Regions from separate parts of the Homo sapiens genome. Here region 1 is linked to region 2. Evidence: promoter capture Hi-C in 16 types of primary human blood cells and fetal thymus (Javierre and others, 2016). All regions are on one chromosome and are shown on one strand. The core of a region is centred on a gene start or on the middle of the fragment in contact, and the rest is flanking DNA. Distances in the headings are between cores, read along the strand shown.

The links. Contacts are between HindIII fragments. The CHiCAGO score rates a contact against its expected background, and 5 or more counts as called.
Region 1: a contact is called between a fragment that was not itself captured here and the fragment with the promoter of MCAT in region 2, in 2 of 17 cell types (total B cells and naive CD8 T cells). The highest score is 6.5, in total B cells.

The regions. Positions count from the first base shown.
Region 1 is chr22:42,869,157-42,872,137 of GRCh38, forward strand. It overlaps PACSIN2 (protein kinase C and casein kinase substrate in neurons 2), which reads right to left. Exons shown (of 11, transcript NM_001184970.3): 11 at 617-2,313. The coding sequence ends at 2,201. It overlaps LOC101927393 (a long non-coding RNA gene), which reads left to right and starts at 2,258. Exons shown (of 3, transcript XR_001755575.2): 1 at 2,258-2,347; 2 at 2,829-2,929. The HindIII fragment of the contact is 295 bases long and covers 1,522-1,816 here.
Region 2 is chr22:43,141,659-43,144,647 of GRCh38, forward strand. It overlaps MCAT (malonyl-CoA-acyl carrier protein transacylase), which reads right to left and starts at 1,740. Exons shown (of 4, transcript NM_173467.5): 1 at 1,268-1,740. The coding sequence starts at 1,690. RefSeq lists a silencer at 1,495-1,764. The HindIII fragment of the contact is 11,018 bases long and covers 1-2,989 here.

The DNA of each region.
Region 1 (2,981 bases), core at 419-2,918, 270 kb before region 2:
TCGGTGAGCGTGGCCACAGCCGCCCTCACGTCTTGCTTCTCTCCTGTCTTCAAGCCAGTCCAAGCCTCCTCCCTCCTCAGTTTCTCCAGCGAGGGAGGGGGTGGTTCCTCAGGGATTTCGCTCAGTGCTTTGGGCTGGCTGAGACTCCTCAAGAAACCCTGGCTGGCTCTTGGAGCCTCTGTTTCCTCCTCGGTAGAATGGAAATGGGGAGACTTGCCCATACCCTGTGGAGATGTTTGGAGACGCAGATAATGTAAGTAAAAAGTGGAGAGCACACAGTAGGTGCTCAGGAAAATGTGCTCATAGGAGAGTTATGGGTGATGTCAGTCTTGTCCTGCTGTTTGGGCTGGGGCAATAGAGAGGCGCCAGCCGATGCCCGCACCATGTGGAAGCCCAGGTCAAACAGCAGCAGGTCTCGGGGAGAAGGGAACCCCAAGGGGCTCAGGTGCCTCAAATCCCCAACCTCCAGTTTGGCAGGGGCAGTGGGCCGTGGCCTTTTGGGCAGGGGTCCTGTGCCCTGGATCTTGCCCAGCTCCAAAGCTAGTAAGCCCCAGGGAGGCCACCCCCGCCAAGTGAAGTGGGCATGAAGACAGATGATGGCGAAGGGACTTCCATATGCACGAGATCAACTGTTTATTGATTTTTTTCCTCAAATACTACACATGTAAAGGAACTGTTAAACTGAAAAAGACTTGACAATTTTTGGTAAATCCGTAGCACAGAAATGAGGATTTCTGCTGGTAAGTTCTCAGGACAGACACAGACACAGGTCCACTTTCCAAGCAAGACATCTGCTCACTGGAAACGGAGTGAATGCATAGCTGGTGACGGCGGCGGGCACTGCTGAGTCACGTGAAACACAGGTTCCCCCACGTTCCCCCCACCCCCGCCGGCCCGCGTGGCCCCCGCGTAACTCTGGCTGCAGCACCTGCTCCCGGGCGACTCCGGGCAGCCCGAGACACTCGTGCTGCGGGTAAGACCCAGCTTCTGTTTGTGCACAAGTAACACGACGACTGAAATCTGCAACTACTGCAAAGACGCGGGCACTTTTACAGTGTTCTGCTACGGAGCCAGGACAAAGGCCGGTCAGAAGCCGGACCAGCAGTCAGCTGGTGACGACGAGCCTCCCTCCAGCAGGCACCACGTCAGAGAGGCCCCAGGCCCACTGAGCCCGGGAGGAGACCCAGCCGGCCAGCCAGACGTGTGCCTGAATGCCACAGACTTCAAGCAGTTTACAAACGAAACTCACTGTTAAAAGCTGTTAAATCTCATTAAAACAGTAGACGAGTGCTTTAGATTCTCTGAATATCAAATAATATATACAGATAGACACTGAGACATGACAGTCTAATCTAAAGCATCTTTACAGATGCATTTGCTTGAAAAGTTAGTCTTCTTTTTAACTCTGAATCAGTGATAAAATTGTTAATTTGCAAAAGAGTACAGTTTTAAGCAAGAATAGAGTGAAAATAATTTTTAAATATGGCGATTTGGGGGAGTTCTACCTAAGGTTCTATGTAAAGCTTCCATTCAGATGCCCAAAAGCACAAAGAGCATTCCCAATAGAAACCCGACCATAACCCGGTCCCACCTTCCTGGCATAATTCCTTTCCTCAAACATCTGCCACCTGAGGCTAAGCCTACACACGGCGTGGCTGAGTAACAGGGTAAGGGAATAGGGAGATCGTTTCCTCAAGACTGGTGCGCATCAATCTGTGCCATAATTTAAGTAGAAATGAACAGGTGTATAAAAAAGTATAACTGTACACAGCCTTTAAATTAAAAACCTCAAAATCTTCACTCAAAATGGGATGTAAGCTTGTTCATTTAAGTTGCAGGTGATGGACTCGTCAGAGAGAGTAATCAGTGGAACAAGATCAGTGTAACCCACCATTGACTCGGAAAGGAGAGACAAAGTCAAGAACATAGAGATCTATGATAGGCCAACAGGCACAGTGGGCGGGGAGGGGCGGCTATTTCTGTTGTTCTGCGTCTTCCTGCGCTCAGATCCCTCCAGCTGCACTCGGAAAGGTGCCGAGTCCCAGGCGAAATGACCAGCTCATCTGCCTTCCAGGAACACCATGAAGCCAAGAGCAATGGAACCATCATCTCTTGCAGGAAAAGGAGTGGATGCCCACGTGGCTGGCTGAGGCTCCTGGGCCCGCCGCCTCCGTCCCCCCGCTGGCCTGTCCCCGACTCATCACTGGATCGCCTCCACATAATTTGCCGGGTATAGGCCAACTTGCCCGTTGTCCAAGCGTCCCTTGCACCAGCCCTGCTCATCCTCGTCCTCCATCTTGGTCAGCTCATCCCCTGCAAGACAAAGAGGGAGCCGTCTCCATGAGAGGTATGACACCGACGGTGGGCTACAGAGCCGCATTCACGAGCTTTGAGCCCACAGAGGGTGGAGGGCCAGGCATTCTGTGGCGGGCAGGCCGAGGGCCTGGTCATTTCTCTACTAAATGCATGCATTTTAAGTTGCCTCTTTGGTCATGGGCCTCTGACAGACCTAGAGATGACAGTCTCACACAGTAATTTGGAACAAGCTGCTCTCAGCTGCCACAGTGGCTCCCACTGAGACTGCGGCATCCAGCTCCATAGGGCTGTGCCTTCCTCACCACCCTGGCCAGGTGGCAGGAATCGTCCCTCGGTTGTGCCCCTCCCTCACGTTGGGCCTCTTCTGTCCCCTCCCCAGGGCCCCGGCCGCCTTGCTCCCAGCAGCTGTCTCTGGGGTCTCTCTGCCTTTGCTAATCCCTCTCCTCTGCAACTTCCAGGCTGCGAGGGGAAGGGACCATGTCTGACAGTCATACCTGTCATTTTATCCCCAGCACCTGGCTGATGACTTGTGCACGGTGCCATGTGTCAACCCTTCCTGAGACCCTGAGAAGGAGCCCCTGGCGCTGTTCTGGAATCTCCCTGTGGCTCTAATGTATTAACGTGGTTCCATTTATCTTTGGTTGTTCCAACCTGAAGGACCTCCT
Region 2 (2,989 bases), core at 490-2,989:
CCTCCCGGGTTCAAGCAATTCTCCTGCCTCAGCCTCCCGAGTTGCTGGGATTACAGGTGTCCACCACCACACTTGGCTAATTTTTGTATTTTTAGTAGAGACGGGGTTTCACCATGTTGGCCAGGCTGGTTTTGAACTCCTGACCTCGTGATGCACCCACCTCAGCCTCCTGAAGTGCTGGATTATAGGCATTATAGGCGTGAGCCACCTCGCCCGGCCAAGAGCATTTTTATCTCATCTGTGAAATGAGGGAAGAACAGGGCCTACCCCAAAGGGCGGATGAGAGAATTATGTGAATATAATGTCTATACAGTGCTTAGCACAGACCCAGACTAGGGTAAGCAGTGAATGAATATTATGATGACGATTCAACAGGACCACTTAACTAATTCTTTTAATATCCCTGAGTCTGCATTCCTCAACCATCAAATAACAGTATTAACCTCACAAGGTGGTGTGAAGGTGAAATAGGGTAAAGGATCTCAAGTGCTAGCTTAACATTTACCGTCTTATTAAATATTAATAGCAATCAATCCACCACCTTCAAGTGAAGTGACATTCTCAACTCATCTCAATGTTCCTTCATTTAGGCCAGTGCAGTGGCTCATACCTGTAATCCTAGCACTTTGGGAGGCCGAGGTGGGTGAACCTGGGAGGATTTAAGTAAAGAATAAAAAAATTAGCCGGGCGTGGTGGTGTGCACCTGTGATCCCAGCTACTGCGGAGGCTGAGGCAGGAGAACTGCTTGAACCTGGGAGGCAGAGGTTGCAGTGAGCCAAGACTGCGCCATTGCACTCCAGCCTGGGTGACAGAGCAAGACTCTGTCTCAAAAAACAAAACAAAACGGGCCGGGCACGGTGGCTCATGCCTGTAATCCCAGCACTTTGGGAGGCCGAGGCGGGCAGATCACGAGGTCAGGAGATCAAGACCATCCTGACTAACACGATGAAACCCCGTCTCTACTAAAAATACAAAAAATTAGCCGGGCATGGTGGCGGGCGCCTGTAGTCCCAGCTACTTGGGAGGCTGAGGCAGGAGAATGGCGTGAACTCGGGAGGCGGAGCCGAGATCGCGCCACTGCACTCTAGCCTGGGCGACAGAGCGAGACTCCGTCTCAAAAAAAAAAACAAAAACAAACAAAAAAAAAAACTCGATCGAATGAGTAAGACGTGGGAGCCCCCGGAATGGCAGGCGGAAGCCTCTGGCAGGGCCAAGAGCTCAGGCAGAGCTCACCTTCCCCCTCCTGTCACGGGGCCTCGGGCCTCACCGAGGGCTGCAGGTGATGTAGTTTCTCGACAGCGGCCAGCGATGCCACGAAGATCGCGGGCTGACAGTGCACGGTGCGGTCCAGGGTCTCCTGCGGCCCGTGCAGGCTCAGTTCCAGCAGGTCGTAGCCCAGCACGCGGCGGGCGGCGGCGTAGAGTTCGCGGACGCGCGGGTAGTTGAGCAGACCGCGGCCCATGCCCACCACCTGGCTGCCCTGGCCCGGGAAGAGCAGCACGGAGCACTGGCCCGGCATTCGCCGCTCCGTCGCCGCCCAGGGCGCCTCCTCCTCCGCCCCGGTCGCATCTCGCAGCAGCTCCGCTACACCCTGGGCGCCCGGCGGAGGCACCGGGAAGCTCGAGGCGCCGCGGCGGTAGCTGGCGCCCAAGCCCCTGACCCACGCTACCCGTGCGACCCGGACGCTCATGGTCGGACACCTGCCCGCGCGCGTTACCGTGGCGACCGAGGCCCGACTGCGGCGGCGCGGCGCAGCGTGGTCCCTGACGCATTTCCTGCCGGGGCTTCCGGGGCACCGGGAGCGGGAAGAAAGGTTCCGCAGACGCTGGTTCCGCCCCGGCTCTGAGGCCCTTCGGGCTGCGTTCTGGGGTCCTGGAGGGACTCATGCGTTTACTTAAACAGCCATAGCCGTTGAACGGAACACGATGCCACACCACAGTGGGTCCTCAACAGATATTTATGGAATAAATAACGCAACGCAATGTAGTATTTACGCTTTCTACCTGGCACATGAAGAGCACTTGAAACTCTTCCACATTGATGGTTTTTGTTGTTGTCGTTGTTGTTGTTTGTTGTTGTTTTTTGAGACGGAGTCTTGCTCTGTCGCCCAGGCTGGAGTGCAGTGGCGTGTTCTTTGCTCACTGCAACCGCCGCCTCCCAGGTTCAAGCGATTCTCCTGCTTCAGCTTCCCGAGTAGCTGGGATTAACAGGCGCCCGCCACCATGCCTGACTAATTTTTGTATTTTTAGTAGGGACGGGTTCACCATGTTGGCCACGCTGGTGTCGAACTCCTGACCTCAGGTGATCCACCCGCCTCGGCCTCCCAAAGTGCTGGGATTACAGGCGTGAGCCACCGCGCCCGGCCAGCAACCACATTTCTTGCATATGATCCTCCCAACCACAGGAGTTGGCATGGCCGACCATCCGTTGCCAGTTCCCAACTATACAACAGCTCTCTTTTATAATGTTTTCTTACAAACCACACAGTGCTTGGCACATAATAAGCATCCAATAGATCTTTATGCTATTGAACAAAGCCTTGAATGTGTTTCAGATATTAGCTTATTTAATTCCTCACAGCAACGCTGTGATGGATAGCTGCTCAGAGATTGAGTGACAGGTGGTTAGTGACAGAATGGAGGTTGGAAATTGGGGTTATCTAATGTTAACCTAAAAGCAACTCAAGAGACACAGGCTCGGCCAGGCGCAGTGGCTCATGCCTGTAATCCCAGTACTTTGGGAGGCTGAGGCAGATGGATCACTTGAGGTCAGGAGTTCAAGACCAGCCTGGCCAACATGGAGAAACCCCGTCTCTACTAAAAATACAAAAATTAGCTGGGCGTGGTGGTGGGCGCTTATAGTTCCAGCTACTCGGGAGGCTGAGGCAGGAGAATCCCCTAAGCCCGGGCAGCAGAGGTTGCAGTGAGCCGAGATCCCACCACTGCACTCCAGCCTGGGTGACAGAGCAAGACTCCGTTTCAAAAAAAAA